Linked DNA regions of Homo sapiens: region 2 is linked to region 1. The links are contacts of gene promoters, found by promoter capture Hi-C in human tissues and cell types (Jung and others, 2019). All regions are on one chromosome and are shown on one strand. Each heading gives the region's core, a stretch centred on a gene start or on the middle of the fragment in contact. The rest is flanking DNA. Distances are from core to core; before and after follow the strand shown. Region 1 holds the start of GRID2 (glutamate ionotropic receptor delta type subunit 2). Region 2 overlaps GRID2 (glutamate ionotropic receptor delta type subunit 2).

Evidence for each region. Contacts are between HindIII fragments. The study calls those that stand out against the background at their distance.
Region 2: a fragment that was not itself captured here is called in contact with the fragment with the promoter of GRID2 in region 1 in 4 of the 25 tissues and cell types used here (dorsolateral prefrontal cortex, heart left ventricle, hippocampus and 1 more).

What each region holds. Positions count from the first base shown.
Region 1 is chr4:92,301,649-92,306,082 of GRCh38, reverse strand. It overlaps GRID2 (glutamate ionotropic receptor delta type subunit 2), which reads right to left and starts at 2,117. Exons shown (of 16, transcript NM_001510.4): 1 at 1,339-2,117. The coding sequence starts at 1,426. RefSeq lists a silencer at 291-585. The HindIII fragment of the contact is 11,112 bases long and covers 1-2,868 here.
Region 2 is chr4:92,359,153-92,363,260 of GRCh38, reverse strand. All of the region lies in intron 1 of GRID2 (glutamate ionotropic receptor delta type subunit 2), which reads right to left. Among named protein-coding and RNA genes, the nearest start is that of GRID2, 57 kb to the right of the region's middle. The HindIII fragment of the contact is 7,454 bases long and covers 1-4,108 here.

The DNA.
Region 1 (4,434 bases), core at 868-3,367:
CCACCTGCAGCAGATTCCCCTACCAGGAGTATGTGTACGTGCGTGTGTGTATGTGTATGCGTGTTGTGCGGTGGAGAAGCAGGGGTACAGAAAGGGGAGAAGCTGTGACCCATCTGTCGCCTCAATTTGCAGAACACCAAGCCATGCGTACAGATAAAAGTCCTGTGCCCAGAAAAATTCCCCCAAAGGGACCTCTCTGCAGCCCAGCAAAGAAACCTTGCTGGCTCGGTAAGCGAATTTCCGAAAAAGAAATCGTCGCATTAACGCAGAAAAGGCTGCAAGAGCCTGTCTCCCGCTCAGCTCTCACGGATTAGCAAGTGAGTAGAGTTGGAGCCTGAAGCTGCGAGCGCTGTGCATGATAATGACGCGCAGCCCCCCGCCCGCCCCTGCTCGCCGCGGCCAGTCCCGGCCCGTCTGGTTGCCAATAGGTGGGGCCACCAGCATCTCGGAGCCCGCTCGGCAGTCCTTCTCAGAGTCGCGGCCCGCAGTAGTCCCGGCGCCTTCGCTGTCTGCCTTGCGCGGCTACTCGGAGTTGACTGCGAGGCGAGGCGAGGCGAGGCAAGGCGGATATCTGCTAAGCAGACCTCGGGAGCAGCCTGCGCGCATTCGCTTCCCCGCGTTTCCCAAGCGCCCCGGGGTCAGTTTCGCCGCCGCGCCAGGCCCCGGGAGCGTGTCCGAGGAGGCGAGGCACGCGACAATCAGTCCTTGGCGACACTGCCGCCAGCCCCTCCTGCCACCGTCTCAAAGACTACACGCAAGGATCATAAAGCCAAGAAGATGTGAGAAGAGAGGGTGGCTGGGGGCGCATCCGGCACCCCCGTCACCATCGCACTAAGCTGCGGCGAACTCAGCCGGCTCACGTTGCAAAACCACCTGTTCGATCCGAAGGGAGCTCCCCCTACCCCCCAGCCCAGTTCTTTTCATCTCACAGGTGACAGCTTCTCTGCTCCCCCAAAGATAAATTTTTAAATGGAGCAAATGTACATCCGGGAAAAAAAATATGGAAGATAAGAGTCAATTAAACTCCCTTTCCCCACACACTTAGAATCCCCCTGCAGTTCCCAGCACACACTCACACTCAGGTCAACTCGAGACCCCCACGCATCCAGCCACATTCCACGAATCACTGCAAAACAACAGCACAAGTCAGTCGAGGTTCGAGCATCCACATCCTTTCAGAAAACTGAGCAAGTGTGAGGGAAGGGTAGCGGGAAGGGGCAATGAACTGAAGCCACCTCCAACAAGACACACAGAGACCGGAGAGGGGGAAAGCGAAGGGGAAACATTTGAGAACTGAAACGGTAAAAGTAACCACGAGCTGCACCAACACTTTCTTACCGATGTGAATGATCGAATCCGCATTCGCCGAGTCCCAGGTTCGAGACCACCAGACGGACAAAACCAAGAGAAAGGGGAAAACTTCCATCTCCTCCTATGCCGATTCTCTTGGAGGATGGATTTTCTTCCAATTTTTTTTTTTTCAAACAGTCCAAAGAGTTTGAGGTCACGGTGGAGTTTAGCGCAGCTTTTTCTTTTTTTCTAAATTCCTATTGCCAGAGCAAAGCCTTTTATCGTCGCCGAGAAAGGCAGAAGGGAATGACAGAAAGAGCCCAGCCTGAGGAAACCTCCTTCGCAAAGCCGTGTCACTTGGAGGGGAATTTTGGCATCGCCAGAGTTGTTTGCAGTTTGGCTTTTGAAAAATATATCCAGCCTCTACTGCTCTTGGGCAGGGGGAGAGGCTGGGGCTCAGATCAGACCCATCGCTGCGCGGGGGCCGCGGGTCTCCGGTCCCAGCTCCGCTGCAACTTCCAACACCCCCCTCACGCCGGATGTGCCCCCTTCCCCGCACCCTCTCGGACCAAAAAAGACCCCCGCCCCCGCCCCTACAGCCCGCAGAGAATCACTGGTCTTCGCTGCCAGAATCTAAGTGGAAAGGAAAGATTAGGAGATTCCAAACGGAGCAGCCAGATTCCACCAGGGAGGGGGGAAAAAAGCCCTCTCCAAGAGGGGTAGAAAAAGTGAACTTCAAGGTAATGCAGATAGTAATGCAGAGAAAATTCCCTTTCTGCGTGAGGCGCGGAACGCAGCTTGGCGAGGCGGGCCCGGGGAGCCGGTTTGCTGGGGCGCGGTGGCGGGGGGGTTGCGCCGGGCGCGAGCAGCGGGGCCGGGCCAGAGGAGGGAAGCCGCCGCAGGCTGCAGGATGCTTTTGGAGCGTTTCGCCTGGCGGGATGCAGGAAGCAAGGAGCGAGCCTGGCAGCTTCAGCACCAGCCCCACGTTGCCTAGAAATGGATCACCTAGGAGAAGGAGCGAGCCTGCGAGAGAGCGGTGCTGTCAGGCGGAGAGAGGGGGAAACCAAGAGAGGAAGAGCTTCTCTCTAATAACCACCTCCTCCCCCTATCTGCAATACAAGGGAGAAACAAAATAGTGCTCTCATTTCCCATGGAATCTTCAACCGGGACTGAGAAAAAGGCAGGACTGTAAAAAGACATTGAAGCTTTTTTTTTCCTTTCTTTATTTTACGAGGTTAAATGCAACCTAAAAAAGCCACCCCACTTATTTAACCTTGCTATTCTCTAACAGGTATCAGACTTTTTCTAGTCTTTGCCTGGAATTAGTCACATTGGTTGAAAACAAATTAGGGACACCTGGTCACTTAGGGAAATACAGACCTAGAAAGCTTTTAATGAGATTTCAATTATAAAGTTATAAAAAGGAGAGAACGTGCTAATTACCTTTTATACAATGATTTTTTTTTTCTGTCTCCAGTGTATTTTTTAGGCAATCAGGATAGAGAAAGGTTCCTGAAATCCTTTCTATTGATAGAAATTCTTCTCTATCAGGATAGAAAAGATCTTGAAATTAAAATAAAAAAGCAGAATAATTAAATAAAACAGAAAAATTTTTCATAAACATTTGGTCAAAATATTTCATTGAGTAGCTTAATAACCTATGTAGATAAATTCCGAATGAGGAAGTTGGGTACTCTCTTCCATGGAAAAAGCTGAGGAAGTCCTGAATGACAGCCTCTCAGTCTCCAGTGAAAGGATTTTCTGCAAGCTTATTCCTTAAGATAAAATCCTGATCATTGTGACTTCTTTTCTTATAATGATTGACTTATGTCAATCTGGCCTCATTGCAAACTGAAGATTTGTTAACACAATCGAGTGACTAGTCGAGGTCAGGTATTAATGTCATAATATTGTCTCAGTTATAATTGGAATTCTTTAGGAATGTTGGATGTGTGGATGTCAAGCTCATTACACAACCTTTCAAAGCCTTACCTCCAAGTTTGGCAAACCTCTTTTCCTCCCGTTCCCTCACTTGAGCCCTTCTCTCTAGCCTTCTGAATTGGGTTACTATTTTTCCAGACACAGTTGTACATTCTCACTTCTGGCTGTTTTCATTCATCTTGTACACTTTTTCCTGAACATTCCAGAAAATGTTTTGCTGCCATATTTTTACTTATGTTAATATTTCTGCTTGGAAAGCACGTATTTGTCCTCCCAACCACTCTCCTTCACCATCTCAAGGGCTAGTTCAAATTCCTTTTGCCCATGAAGTAGTGTCCAGTCCTTTAATGTGGAATAAATCCATCTATCTTCTATGCTGTCGTAACACACCCTATTTTGTATTAGAGTTAGACAGAACTACTACTAAGTTAGATCATAAATGCCTTGAGAGTGAAAACCAAAGCTCATTCACATTTTATTCAACACAGCATTTTACAGAGAACCCCTTTGTTGACTTGAATTTCATCACTTCCTTCTGAATCTGGAACAAACCAGTGCTTCCAAGAAGCATTCACTGATTAATTACTCTCAATTTTGATCATTCTCTTATCTTTTGTTTCCATTAGTAGACATTGACTCAATATTGATTATATTAATGTTGGTGTTAATGTCATTTTACTTTATAAAGTGTTTTGATGCAATTCCATAGATTATACTTTGCTTATTCAGATAATGAATTGAAAGAAGAGATGCACTCCCCATAGCTTCCTTCAAATATTATTTACAGTGACATTCTAAAAATTGGTAAGTCATTATGTATTCTATCAAGAAAAATTATAACCATTTAACATGGAAAGAACACCATGATATCTTAGAATAAGATAACTAGGAAGAACTTCAGAGCATTAACTAGTCCAGTCCTGGCTAATGAGTATCTGTCCTGGAGAAAGTCAAATATTGTATAGTCATATTCATACTATTTCCCCTCTTGGAAATGTTTTAGTGTACTGTGAGCAAAGCATTTTCATTATTCCCAAATCCTCCAGTTTAGTAGTTTTCAAATGTAGATTCACTTTGAAATAATCTGAGAAGCTTTTTAAAATGGTCACTTAAGGCTAATTTAATCAGAATCTCTGGAGTTTGGGACACAGCCTGTAATATATTCTAAAAGCCTCTATACAGGGCTCTGCTATGCAGCCATAG
Region 2 (4,108 bases), core at 276-2,775, 58 kb before region 1:
TTAAGATCACTGCTCTAAAGCAATTCACATGGGGGGACTTGTTAAAATATAGCTTCTGATTTGGTACATCTGGTGTGGCATCTAATACTCTACTTCACTAGTCAGCTACCAGGAGACACTGATGCTGCCACACAGAGTGTTGTCTGCTGGCCATACTCTGAGTAGTAAGATTTTGAAAGCAATGCCCTCTCAGGTATATTCACTTAACAGTGTAAAAATTAAAAATAATTGTCACTCAAAGTTTTTTTTCTCCTCTCTCTTCTGAAGAAGGGAATATATGAAGTCTTGTATTAGAGCTGGATAAAAGCTGTGGAGTCAGACAAAACTTTGAATATTGACTGTAAACTTGGATAATCGACCAAATGTTAAAATAATATCTACTACACAGGGCTGTGATACGACGTAAAAAATAATATATACAATGACACAATTAAATTCAGAAAATACGAATCTGACTCCTCACTTCATAATTACCTCAAATTATTTTATCCTAAATGAGTACAATGTGTTTGGTTTCTGAATCTTTTCTTGTTTTGATTTAAAACTTCTTAGGTCTCAAAAAATATCCTTTTTAACTTCTGAAAATATTTCAACTTAGTTTGAAATAGGTTTGTTTTGGTTAGTTTAAGATTGTTTAAATGAGAAGATTTAAAATATTTGTAATGCTGTTCAACAACAAAAATGTAAAATAATAGGTGTAACTATACATTTACAAAGAAAACTGAAATTTATATATATTTATGAGAATCTGTGGATTTAATTTAATTAAATAATTGGAAAATACATGCTACAGACATTCTGCAGTATTTCAAAATAATTTTAGAAAAATTTTTGGAATAAACAGAGCTTGTTTTAAGCCACATTAAGACAAAAATGTTTCATTATTTTGCAATCTACTTTGTTTTTGGCAAAAAAAATCATACTTCCCACTTTGATCACCCACTTTATTCACCAAATTTGGCACATTCTAACTTCTGCTAATAGCAAAAACAGAACAGACTCTTTCTGTTTGAAGATTTGCTACTGTTGAGAATTATTCATAGTACAGCCCACAGAATCCAAAGATAACACCAACACAAGAGCCCAAACAGCATGAGCAATGGTGACATTATTGTATTGTTTGGCTCCTATGATAACTACTGTGAAGGGGACATCATTCATGCCAATAAACCAGTCTGAGTATGTTGTTCAATTACTCTGATTTTCTAAGTGTCTCACCTCATATTTTTCCATCTGGGTTTGAATGAGAAACAGAAATACTTGGATTTTTCTCTTCTCATTATATTTCCAGGGCACTCTCTACAAATAACATAATACTGCAGAATTTGCTAGCATTGTAACCCCTGCCACTCCTCTAATTAACTGAGTTGATGATCCTAGAATGGAAAGAGGAAGCTGCATTAAAAGGCAGATGCTCAGTATACCACATTACTGTTGCAAATTCTCTGGCATTTATGGAAGCCAGAAGCCCAGATTACAAGAATCATGCGTACTTGAGGCCCTTCCACTATAACCAGGACACTGGCAACAAAGGAATTTGGAGACTTAAAAAAATTTACAACAGATGGGCAAACTTTTTTATATCCACTGACCCTCGCAACTACCTTTCCAACCTTCCCCCATCACAACCTACTTCCTCTGAGATTGTCCAGGTAGAGTTAGCTACAGCAGCCCTGTTTTCTAGAAATGACCATGCCAGATGGCACCTTCAGAGTATGAACACCTGGATCCTAAAAATATGTACTAGATACAGCAATACAAGGTTGTGAAAATCATCCTTGAGATTTTTACTGTTTCAATTATATAAAGGCTTTCCAGAACTTTTGTTCTGATATACAATTTACATACACAATTTTTTTTCTAATATACAATTTACATTGAATATTTCCATATACTGATACACTGTCTTCACGTAGAGTTATTTAATTGAACTATTATTTTTAATTTCAGAATTGCTTTGTCCATTTAGAGTTTAGTAGGAACATGTAGAATGACTTACCTGCGAAGGTTAAATAAAGTATTTGTTAAGTTATGGCTCTGATATCAGATCTTTTAATTCAATTTGCCTCCTAGAAAGGTCATTTGATCTCACTAAGCATTGCCTTATTTAACTGTGATTGAGGGTAATAATAGTACCTAACCTAATGGAGTTTTAGTTGGAGTTAAAGAAATATAAAACCACATTTCTTAAGAGTCCTTGGTACAGAGTAAACAATAAATAAAAATAATTACAAAACTCAGTTATGGGTGTGTTAAAGAATAAAAAAGTAGAAGAGACCTAGTCCTTACCCTCAAGCAACTTATCAGTCACCAAGCAATTTAAAATAGAACACAAATATTTAACCTAGAAAAATATCTATATCTTATCTATAAAAATGAAGACTTACAGTTGATATAAAAGGGGGAAAACCCCACAAAAGTTTCCTGTGGAGATCACTTTGAATCAGGATTGCCAATGTGATTTTTTAAGAGATATGGGCTCTGAAAGACCTGATGATTCCCTAGACTCAATATGGTCTTCCATACCTCTGCTTCTTCTGCCCCAATCCCTTCCACTCTCTACCTAGTATATTCCTTCTTATCTTTCAAGACTCCATTCAAACATCACTAATCTTATGAAGCCTCCATGATACCGTTGAACAATGCTGGGTGGCTGTGGAATGTGACTCTACTTTCACTTGTCTCTCATTGCTTTAAATTTGTTGATATGCATGCAGGTGTTCCCATCAGACTATGAATTTTTTTAGGAAAAGAACCGCATTTTTTTTTATTATTCTATGTCTAGAATCTGGCATATGGCACTCAGTAATGGTTTGGTTTTGTTTATCTGCCTGTGTTTTTATTCGAACTCATGAATGCATAAACAGGCAGAGGCAGCAGCACACAGGCTAATCCTAGAAGAATCAAAACAATTTTATGAAGAGGACAAGGAGTGGTGGGGGTGTATCCCAGCTGAAGGATAAAGATGCAGAAAAGAGAGAGGTAGGGCACAGTTACCTCCAACAAGTTGTCTTGGAATAGTATGAGATTAAAAAGAGAAGCTTGAGCCAGAATAAAGATTGTGGAACTGCATAGGTATAAATCTAGAGCCAATGTATTGCTTATAAATAACAGTAAGGGAAAACTAGGTAAAGCTCTCTGCTTAATTAAATATTTCTCCTTTTCTCCCTTCCTGTCTTCAAATACTTGCTGTATTCATAGAATTTCTTTCTTATCTCCAGAGGGAGATTAGGCTGCCCAAACCAAACCATTAAAGGTAGTTTACAAAGAAATACAATTCAGATAGATGAGAATTCTCTGCTCAGTAAGGGATTTAGAATCACAGGACTGCTGCCTCTGGTACCCAACTATAAAGATTTTTTTTCAGAAATAGTCAATATCATAGGTCACATATTTTAAAATTCACTTGCAATTAGAAGCCTAAGGGAAATTGCCTAGGAAAAAATGTTTTGGCAAGCTTTTAAAGCCTTTCATTGAGTTGGCAACTAGACAGACCATGCTGGCCTCCCAAGCAAGCAGAGCAGGTGTGCCACTTCAGAGATGGTAGAAAGGCTTCCAATTCCTAAACACCCGTCTAACCTGCCTCTCAGTAGCGCCTGATGTTTCTGGAGCAGAGATGCATTCCCTAGTGTTGAGGGGCTATGCTCTATTGAAATGCACAAACCTCTGTAAGAAGGGGAGAAAGAGTAAGCATAACACATGTTTAGTAAATGCAAACTGCCAGGCATTGTGCTGGGCTTTTCCTGTGCATTGTGCTGGGCTTTTCCTGTGAATTACATCCTTAAACTCAGCCCTATAAATTATATCTAATTATCTGATTAACAGATGAAAAAGTTATAGGTCAGATAAGTAACTTGCCAACATTCATGCAATCATTTCAGTATGGAGCTAGAATTTAACTTTAGGACTGTATGACTCAAAACTAGTTTCATGCTATTACTTTATAAAGTTATTTTTTCAATCTTTTTGATCACAGTGGTCCTAAGCTTTCCAACTGATCATTAGATGGAAGGAAGCATGCTTTGGTAAGAGAAAGAATAGAAGTCACATGAGAACACTACATGTTGGTGAGTACTGAAGGAAGAGGGACCATAAAATCGTGAAAGAA